Regions from separate parts of the Homo sapiens genome. Here region 2 is linked to region 1. Evidence: promoter capture Hi-C in 16 types of primary human blood cells and fetal thymus (Javierre and others, 2016). All regions are on one chromosome and are shown on one strand. The core of a region is centred on a gene start or on the middle of the fragment in contact, and the rest is flanking DNA. Distances in the headings are between cores, read along the strand shown.

Region 1 (5,504 bases), core at 1,497-3,996:
TCTCACTCAAGGTGGCTTGTTTCCTCATGGGTTTTTAAATTTTGAGTTTGGCACTTACTATTTTGGTAACCTTAATCTGTGAAAAATCCTAAAAGACCAATGTGGAAAGTCTGCTTCTTTTGTAATATGACGTTCTGGGTAAAGTATATGAAGAAAGACATATGTAGGTGGAAAAGGAAAAATAATTTTAAAAGCCGTTTCGGATAATTGTGGATATTCTTTGATACTACCTCAAAACTCTGACAAGTGGTAGCTTCTTCAAGGTTATTTCTAACTCAGAAACTATAGCAATGAATTTTTTGTACTGTCAGAATAAATCTATTAATGTATCTTAAGCTTTGAATGGCTCTTTCACCAATACCTGATTTCATAACATCATGCATTGGTCACCTGGAAAACACTGGTTCACTGAGTTACGCAGATTATCCAAATACTATCAAAAAAAAATCCACGTTTGTTAATATCACCACTCATCTCATCACAGATATCTTTAAGGACTGTGAAGCTGCCAAGCTCACAGCAAAAGATACGAGTCTTCCCAAATTCTAAAATTTCCCCAAAGTTTGAATTTTATTATTGGCCACAAATACTAACCGTTGTTTTCTTAAAGTGACAAACTCACTTCATTCATTTTCCAGATTAACAAATTTCTATGAAACATGTGCTACTAACAAGACCAGTCATTAAGTAAAAATCCCACTCCGGAAAGGTTTTCAATTGCACTTCACAATGGAGTTATCCAAAATGGATAGGGGTGACAGTGTGTCTCATTTCCCCATATACAAAAAATGGGTAAAATTAGATCATCTTTAAATTATTTTTCAGCTGACATAGGACTCAGTAATTCACACAATTAACTAACTGATATATGTGTGTTCTTGGAAAATTAGAAAAAAATATCCAAACTAACTTAAATCAACTAACTCGTATATTCGGAAAATATCTTAAAGTACAAAACAATAATCAAGACAACATAAACAATACACAAGACAGTAGTTAGTAGCATCGGAAAGCTGCCGCGATCAAAGTTTACTTTAGTTAACTAGATCCTGTCTTAACTACCGATGGATGATTTTCACTGCAGTTCCAGGCTAACGTGGCAGAGGGAGGGGTTTGGGTGTGGTGGTTTTTTTTTTTCTCCAAATTAGTTGTATGCTTCCTTCTAAAGGGAAGGATATTTTTTAAAATGGCAAGTTAAGAAAAGACAAAGGAACCACACCTAATTTTATTTGTGGAGTGGAAGGTGGGTGGAGGGAGACAGAATATGCAATCGGTGTTCTGACACCAATCATGAAGAAAAAAGTTAAGCCCGTGGTGATATTTCAAAATGAAAGGCTATTTATTAAAATCGGTCAGGCTCAAACCAGCGAAGAGGACAGATGGCAAAGTGGCTGAATTTGCGGCAGCTATGCCCCAATGAATTATTTCCGAGATAGGGTTCCACCCTCTGTAGCTAAGGCAAATTATTGCATCAGGCGCCCATGCAGGAGAAACCCGTTTGGTGTTTACTACTAAGTCATGATCTCCGGGGTCCTACTGCAAGCTCTGGCTCTCCCTAATTGCATATGGGAATCATCTGAAATAATCTTTTCCTTGATATCTCTAAATTCTAAACTCTATGGCAGTGCCCTAGGAAAAGGAGGTCTATATTAAATCACCAAGTCCTTCAGCCCATGAAACCTTCCCTCACCTTCGGGAAAATCAAATGTCAAAATATTCCATACTAAGGATGGCTGACTTCACTCCGCAACACTTAGTTTCCCAGGTTTACGATCTGAGGGCTCACTGGTTCCAAACGGCCTTTTCAGAAGCCAGAAAAGATGACAAGAGCAAAGGATGATGAGTTCACAGCATTAATAGAAAAGTTCGACACCTCCCCACATCCACATTTCAATTCTATTTTCTCAGCCAATCATTCCGCTAAACTAAGCACTGAATGAAGGAAGATGTTAAGGGGGAAACACTATCAAAGCATCCTAAAGATTAAAGGGCCTGGCCGTAAGACGAAAGAACCGGCAGTTTTTCGGCTCATCATTGACCACTGAAAGAATTAGGAGGCTTTCCACCCAGGGTGCACAAAGAGTACAGCAGAGCCTGGAAAACTGAAGTTAAGGTTATTCAGTTAGGAGGCGAGGACAACCAAAGGGTCACAGATCCCAGCCCCACTGGAAATAGAGGAGACGCGGGCTGTGACAGAATGGGGAAGGGAGAACGGAGCCGGAGAGGGACGCAGGAAGTCGGAGGGGTTCCAGGGAGTCATCCAAAAAGAGAGGAGGACGGAGGTCCGCGGGAGAGGAGGTGGCTGACGCACGGGGGACTTGGGACCAAAGTGGGGGAGGCGAAGAAGACGCCAGAGGATGAAGGGAAAGAAAGGGGTAACCGAAGAGGAGGACAGTTCCCCGGGGAGGAGGGAAGGATGACCAGAAGAAGGCCCTGGGAGGAGAGCCGGAGGCTTAGCGGAGAGCGCAAAACACCGGTACCTGCTGGCGCACTGCTAGCCTCAGAGGTGCCAGCACCTCCTCAGCCCCCGCGCCGTCCATGCTGCTCCGGGAGGCGGCGGCGGGCAAGGAGATCGGGGGGCAGGAGGCCGCGCTGAGGGACCGGCGGAGCAGGAGCGAGGGTCGGGCTAAGAGCCGGGGCGGCAGCAGCAGCAGCAGAGCGGCGCGAGCACCTCTAAGCAGCACTGGACGCGGAGAGGGCATGAGCCTGCGGCCCTGGGCTGTCCAGAGAGGGTGGCGACGGAAGCGGCGCGCGCCGCCCGGCTCGGAGCATGATGAAATCGCCGCGTAAACGACGCGGCGCGCGTGCTGCCGCACATTCACCACCGCGTGACGCGGCGCCGGGTCGCCGCCGCAGATTCGACACAAAACCCGGAAGGACCCCGCCGAAGGTTTTCTCCGGTTCGGGAGAGAGGTAGGTAGGGTTGCGAGCGAACAGATTTGCACAGAAGTGCGTCAAGCCACCCCAGCAGGGTGGATGTTCAGGGACACAGCTCTGAGCGAGACCTGCAGGCCGAGACACACGAGAACCTTCAAAGCATAGGTTTTTATACGAGTGACACCCCGGCCGACCTACTTGAACGGACACTTCTGTTTCTGTTCTTTCGCGCCCTGCGCCTTAAAAGGGTCGCAAAACATCAAATCAGATAGGGATCTTAGACTTCTGTTGCTCAAGTGCAGATGTTCCCCAGATAAGGAAATAGGCCCAGAGAGGTTAATGATTTGCCCAGAGTCACACATTCTTGGTCCGCCGATGTCAAGACAAAAGCTGGCGAACGGGGGAGGAGGAGTGAGGGGATAGAGTCACCCCAGGCTTTCTGGAGAAGGTAAATTCCAATCTGCCCTTGCGGGGCGAGCAGGATTTGAACCGGCAGAGATGAGGAAAGGCAAGAGGTGCCTGATAAGTCTTTCTGCTTGGCATAGCCTCAGTCTATCTGCCTCCTGTGGTTAGGCCCCAGCTGACCAACCACCCAGAGATGGCTTCCCCCCGCCCCACACACCCAGTTCCTCCTGCCCAAAGGGTGGAGGGCCTAGAAAAGCTGGGTTCCCCCTCCAGGAAAGGAAGAGAAAAATGATGTGTTGGTTATAAAAACAGCATTGCGCACACCTGCAAAAATGGCTAAAATGAAAATGATGGAAAATGCCAAGTGACCCTCTGAGACTCCCCTACACTGCTCAGGGGAGTGTTAACTGGTGCAGCCAGCCACTTGGGAGCTCTTCGGCAGTATGCACGTACGTCTCCCTGTGACCCACAATCCCACCCCAGGAGTGTGCAGGAGTAGACGGGCTCAGTATAATGAAGTCTCCTTTCCTAATGGTGTGAAAGTCCATGTTATTTCTCTTCCCGTTCCAGTGTGCAGTTCTGGAGAAGTACTTACAATTCAACATGAGCAGGGTGGGTTGCTTAAGAACCTTCTGCAATATTGAACAATTATATTTTTAAACACTTTTATTTCAAGATTTGATATTAATTATAATTTATTTGGCTTTTATTTTACTAGGCAATTTTGAATTTATTTTAATATCTTTAAATGTGAAAAATCATTTTAAGTTTTACTTTTATTTTTATTTAGATTTTTATTAAAATGTTGAAATTCTATATCCTTTGAATAAAACTATTTTATTTCTAAAAAATTCCTTAGATCAATAATGTCTCATCCATTTTCATGTTAGGACAGTCCTGAAAGGACTCCAAATCCGTTCTTCCCTCCTCCCCGACCAATTCATCCTCCCCACTGCTGCTTCAGTCATTCTTTCTTTCTTTTTTCTTTTTCTTTTTTTTTCCAGACGGAGTCTCGCTCTTTCACCCAGGCTGGAGTGCAGTGGCGTGATCTTGGCTCACTGCAACCTCCGCCTCCCGGGTTCAGGCGATTCTCCTGCCTCAGCCTCCTGAGTAGCTGGGATTACAGGCGTGCGCCACCACACCCAGCTAATTTTTTTATTTTTAGTAGAGACGAGGTTTCACCATGTTGGTCATGCTGGTCTCGAACTCCTGACCTCGTGATCCGCCCGCCTCAGCCTTCCAAAGTGCTGGGATTACAGGTGTGAGCCACTGCACTCGGCCCAGTCATTATTTCTGAAAGGCAAATCTGACTGTGTCCCTTCTCTTCTCAGGACACTTCAGTAGGCTCTTCATGGCCCTTGGAAGAATTTCCCAAACAGTTTTCTTTTGAAAACTGTGTCTGCACAATAATGATAATAGTTTATGTTTGTTGAGCACTCACTATGTACCAGTTAGTTCTAATTTATCTCATGGAATTTATTCACCAATTTAGTGAGATAGGTTCTATAGTTATTCAGAATTTTCACATGTGGGATTCAAGGGACTGAGATATCAAACAGCTTGTCCATGGTCACACAACTAAGTGAGTGTTGGGCCAGAATGTGAGCTGGGGGCAGAGGCAGATTTTCTACATAGCTAATGAAGCTTCAAGTGAGTTTAGCCCCTTTCTCTGTTGGGCTCTTTAAGTGCCCTGCAAGAGGCCCTAGTATTGTGTATGTATGATCATATATTTTTCTTGCTTTATTAAAGTTCATTTCTTTGAGGGAAATAAATTTTGCATACATTAAAATGAACAAAAATGTATAGTTCAATGGGTTTCGACAAAGCAATATCCTTTTGTAACCCCAACACCAAGCAAGATAAAGAACATTTTCCCCTGACTCCACAAAGTTCCCTTGCATGTCATCCCGGTCATCCCACCCTCCACAACCAGGCGATCACTATTCTCATTTATTTTCCTCTTAGATCTAGACTGTTGTATAAATGAAATAATGTAATATGTACTCTGTGTCTGATGTCTTTAATTGACCATAATGTGTGAGAGATTAATCCATATTGTTTCACATATCAGAAACTTGCCCTTTTTTGCTCTGAAGTATCCCATTGTGTGAATATACTATAATTTATTAATTTATTCACTAGTTGATAGACATTTGGGTTGTTTCATATTGTAGACCATTATGAATAATGCTGCTGTGAACATTCTCATACATCTTTTTTTG
Region 2 (5,504 bases), core at 1,030-3,529, 530 kb after region 1:
TACTTATCAACAATATTTATCACCATCAAAAGAGAGGCAAAAAAAAAATAAGGTGGTATTATTCATTAGGCCTTCTAGAAAAGGCTACACAATTCAACTAGATCCTTCACTCAGAAGTAGTCTCCTTTGTGTAACAATTTTTTTTGCTGGTAATTTTTTTTGAGCTAGATTTTAACTGCTGTCCCACCCCAGCTGCCTCACCTCTTCAGCCACAAGAGGGCTTCAGTCGCTGAGTTCCTAACCTGGGCTACATCCGCCTCCACTTCGTGCAGCACTATCTTCTGGAGAGTGGTAAACTCTTCTTTGTTGGTTATATACTTCTGATTTACTTTCTGGAGGGAAAGCAGGGAAACAACCTAAGTTTAAAATGCTGAAGTTATCAAGCAACTCAGTATAGTCTGGAGACTTGTAAGTTTGGCAAGCAGGCCTCTAAGAAAATAAATTAAGCTCCTATTACCTTCTTCCTTATGTTTTCATGATAGTATTTGTTTTGGAGAATTCTATGTAGCTTAAACTGGAATTAAATAGTCTCAGGGTTTAAAGTTTTGTTCTTAAAGTTATTTTTTCTGCCTCAGAACCTCTCTCATGCTTGTCTTTGGCAGATACTTTTCACTCTGAATATAAAACTCAACAATCATTTGTTCTAATGAGACTACTTGCAACTGTTCCACCTAAATACAATAAAGAAAGGTATACCTACAGGAATTCCTAATAGTGCTTCCTCAAAGACTAGTCTCCAATGACAAAAAAGATTTTTATTGGGCACTGTATCCTCAAGAAGGTAACATTTAATCTGCATTTAAAAGGGGACCCATCCCTTATTTTACCTGGAAGAAAGAGGCTCAGAGATTTGGTGAGTTGTTGATGGTCCCACAACTACCACTGGAAATGGGCCTTTTGAGTCCCAGACCACTGACAGCTATTTTCACTATATAACCTATCTTTTAGAAAAATATAACTTATCACCATTTAAACCTAAAAAAGCACAGAATCAGTGTGGACATTAGAGTGAAACCCTACTGATCCACACGGTGCACATGAAAAGGCAGTCCTGGTTTCATTTTAAAAATGAATCTTCTACTCCCCATAAAGCTTAACTCTAGCATATAATAAAGGCTTAGTAATTCCCTTACTGAGCATTCACAGTGTGAGAAGAAAGATGCTTGCTCTCTTAAAAGAACAGTGACACATTTTTCACTTTTTGATTTATTCTGGCCAAGCACAAAAATGTTGAGAACATTTTCCTTTATTTAAAAGTTTCCACAGAGACAAACCAGTATGCTCACCTTAATATTTCCAACAAGATCCATCTTAACAGGAGCAAACACTGTAGGGCCAAGTTTGTCTAGAAGAAAAGATTAAAAACATTTCTGAAAAAGCAATTTTTAAGTGGCAATATTTTTTATAATAAAGTAATAATAAATTTAGCAGATCCCCAACAACTTTAATTTTTGCTTCCAAATCATTTATCTAAACATAATCTTCAAAAGCTCCCAGGATACTATTACCATCTTTTTCTATTACACTACTCCAAGGTGAGTTATAATGAGGCCCTAAGTGACAGGTGAGATGAAGATAATCTTATAAGTTTAGGATTCATATAGTAATCCTTAGGGCTGCACTGTCCAATATGGTAGCCACCAGATATGTGGCTAGTTAGTACTTGCAGCGTGGCTAGTACTAACCAAAATGTACTGGAAGTAAAATACGTACCAGATTAGGAAGACTGAGTATGAAAAAGAGATTGCAAAATATCTCATTAATGATTCTTTCGGTTTGTTTGTTTTTTTGAGATGGAGTCTCTCGCTCTGTCCCCAGGCTGGAGTGGAGTAGCATGATCTCGGCTCACTGCAACCTCCACCTCCCAGGTTCAAGCGATTCTCCCTCAGCCTCCCGAGTAGCTGAGATTACAGATGCCCACCACCACGCCCAGCTAATTTTTGTATTTTCAGTAGAGACGGGCTTCACCATGTTGGCCAGGCTGGTCTCGAACTCCTAATCTCAAGTCATCTGCCCACCTCAGCCTCCCAAAGTGCTGGGATTACAGGCGTGAGCCACCATGCTCAGACTCATTAATGATTCTTTTTTCTGGGGGGACGGAGTCTCGCTCTGTCACCAGGCTAGAGTGCAGTGGCATGATCTCAGCTCACTGCAACCTCCGACTCCCTGGTTCAAGCGATTCTCCTGCCTCAGCCTCCCAGGTAACTGGGATTACAGGCATGTGCCATCACGTTGGCCAAGACGGTCTCGATCTCCTGACTTTGTGACCCACTTGCCTCGGCCTCCCAAAGTGCTGGGATTACAGGCGTGAGCCACCATGCCCGGCCCAATGATTCTTTTATATTTATTACATGTTAAGATATTTTAGATATTCTAGGTTTTAAAATAATTAAAATTAATTTGTGTTTACTATGTTAATATGCCTACTAGAAAACTTAAAATTACATATGTGGTTTGAATATTTCTGTTGGGCAAGAACAATGACTAAAAAATAAAACAAAGAGGTATAGCTAAAAAGCCAAAAGAGAAAAGATAGAGGAATTCTTAAAAAAAAAAAAAAAATACTTGATTGATCTAAAAGAAAGGCAGGGACAAAGATAGGTAGCTAAGAGGCCAAAAGAGGAAATAAAACAGAATACTAAAAAAAAAATTGATTAACTGGCTAGAGATCAGGAAAGGAGTAAAAAGGGAACAAAGAACATACAGAGAAAAGCAGAAAATAAGTAGCAAGATGATAGAAACAAATACCAAGATAATGAATGAAATTCATCCAAACAATGTAATTCATTACATTAACAAATTACAGGAAAAAAATGACTTCAGCAAATACAGAAAAAGCATTTTATGAAGTTAACTCATTCATGATTATAAAAACAACTCAGCATATAAACATAATTTGCATGTACATGCTATTAATAATCGGAAAATGAAATAAAACACTTTTTACAACAGAATAAAAAAATAAAATTCTAAAACTTATTCCTAACAAAAGAATATGATAGCTATACACTAAAAACTAGATAGAACATTCTTCAGAGAAAATTAAAATGACTTAAGTAAATAGATACAGCATCCTCATGGATTGGAAGACTCAATGCTTTTGTTTTTGAGACAGGGTCTTGCTCTGTCAACTAGGATGGAGTGCAGTGGTGCAGCCACGGCTCACTGCAGCCTTGATATCCCAGGCTCGTGTGATTCTCCTGCATCAGCCTCCCAAGTAGCTGGGACTACAGGCTTGCGCCATCACACCTGGCTAATTTTTTTCATAGAGACAGGGTCTTACTTTGTTGCCTAGGCCAGGATCAAACTCCTGGTTTCAAGCGATCCTCCTGCCTTGGCCTCCCAAAGTGCTGGGATTACAGTTATAAGCCAGTGAGCCCAGCCTTCGATGTTGTTTAAGATGTCAGCTTTCCCCTAATTGGTTTAGAGATATAATGTAATCTTAATCAAAATCCTAAAAAGCTTTTAAATAGGAATTGAACAGCTAAAATTTATCAAAAGGCCTAGAATTTCCATAACAATCTTGAAAAAGAAAAAACTGAGAGACTTACATTATCTGATTTCAAGCCTTATAATAATTAAGACACCATAAGATCATTGGAACAGAAAAGAGAGTCCAGAAACAGTCCCATATTATAAGCATTATAAGTTCAATTGGTTTTTGACAGAGCTGCCAAAGCAATGTAAAAAGGAAAACATATTTTGACCCACGGTTCTTGAGCAACCAGTTACCACAAGGAAAAAAAAAAAAAAAAAAGAACCTCAACTCCCTACCTCACACCACACACAAAAAATAATTCCAGTGGTTCATAGGCACAAATGTAAAAGTTAGAAGAGTCTAGAAGAAAACAGAATATCTTCATGACCTTTGGGATAGGTAAAGATTTCTTAAGACACTAAAAGCACTAAGTATAAAAGAAGAAACTGGACTTCATGGAAATTTAAAACTTCTGAAAAGGCATCATTAAGAAAAGGAGGAGGCAAGCCATGCTCTGGGGGAAAATATTCACATGTCTACAATGGAATTTTAATTAAGAATATATAAAGAACTCTCCCAACTCAGTAATAAAAAGAAAAACAATTAACTTTTAAAAATGGGTGAAAGATCTGAACAGACATTTCACAATGGAAGAGATAGGGATGGCCAATAATTATAAAAAAAAAGTGCTCAATATCATTAGTCATCATGGAAATGCAAATTAAAGCCACAATGAAATACCACTAAAACATTCAGGAATGCCAAAAACAAAATATTGACACTACCAAATGCTGGTGAAGAAGTCAAACAACTAAAATACTCATACACTATGAACAACTGTGCAACCATTATAACTGTCTGGCAGTTTATTATAAAGTTAAACTATGAACCAGCAATTCCAGTCCTAGGTATTTACTCAAGAGAAATGAAAGCATAGGCCCATAGGCACAAAAATGTTTAGAGCAATTTCATTTATAATAGTCCCAAATTGGCCAAGAGCAGTGGCTCACTCCTGTAATCCCAGCACTTTGGGAGACCGAGGTGGGCAGATCATGTGAGGTCAGGAGTTTGAGACCAGCCTGGCCAACATGGTGAAACCTTGTCTCTATTAAAAATACAAAAAAAATTGGCCAGGCATGGTGGCACAGGCCTGTAACCCCAGCTACTTGGGAGGCTGGGGCAGGAGAATCACTTGAACCCGGGAGGTGGAGGTTGCAGTGAGCCAAGATTGTGCCACTGCACTCCAGCTTAGGTGACAGAGCAAGACTCTGTCTCAAGAAAAAAAAAAAAAGAGTCCCAAACTACAAACTGCCCAAAGTCCATCCATAAGAGAGTGAATAAATAATTGTGGTATATTCATTTAATGGAATACTACTTAGCAATAAAAAGGAACGAACTACTGATACAGAAAACAAGGACGGATCTCAAAAACATACTGTATGAGAAAAGCCAGAGGCAAAAAAGTATAATATTCCAGTTATATCAAGTTTTAGAATAGGCAGAACTAACCTATGGTGACAGAAATCAATAAAATGGTTATTTCAGGCTGAGTGACACAGGGAACATTCCAGGGTGATGAAAACATACTATTTCTTGATAAGGATATGGATTAGAGAGGTAGATGCATTTGTCAAAATTCACTGAATCATAACAGTTAAGACCTACGCAAGTTATACCTCAATTTTTACAAAAGATGTATAGTTAAATGGGTCATAAAGCAAATTTCAACACATTAGCCATTGTTGGTATTACTGACTTTATACAAGTAAAAGTGAATTTGACCTAAATAAACTTTTTTATATATATAAATATATATTATATATAATATATAAAATTATGTATTTGTTAGATATAAATTACATATAATTTAAATGTTACATATAAATTTTCAGATATATTTATCTATTAAATATATATATAACATATATATACATAACATATATATACACATAACATATATATATACACACACACACACACACACACACACACACACACACACACACACTTTTTTTTTTTTTTTTTT

The links. Contacts are between HindIII fragments. The CHiCAGO score rates a contact against its expected background, and 5 or more counts as called.
Region 2: a fragment that was not itself captured here is called in contact with the fragment with the promoter of GARS1 in region 1 in 5 of 17 cell types (non-activated CD4 T cells, total B cells, activated CD4 T cells and 2 more); the score reaches 6.8 in non-activated CD4 T cells.

The regions. Positions count from the first base shown.
Region 1 is chr7:30,592,120-30,597,623 of GRCh38, reverse strand. It overlaps GARS1 (glycyl-tRNA synthetase 1), which reads right to left and starts at 2,746. Exons shown (of 17, transcript NM_002047.4): 1 at 2,481-2,746. The coding sequence starts at 2,702. RefSeq lists a silencer at 1,455-1,554 and enhancers at 1,450-2,063, 2,064-2,677, 2,698-3,047, 2,678-3,291. The HindIII fragment of the contact is 4,590 bases long and covers 339-4,928 here.
Region 2 is chr7:30,056,725-30,062,228 of GRCh38, reverse strand. PLEKHA8 (pleckstrin homology domain containing A8) reads right to left here. Exons shown (of 14, transcript NM_001197026.2): 10 at 1,287-1,345; 11 at 202-332. Among named protein-coding and RNA genes, the nearest start is that of PLEKHA8, 31 kb to the right of the region's middle. The HindIII fragment of the contact is 2,370 bases long and covers 1,095-3,464 here.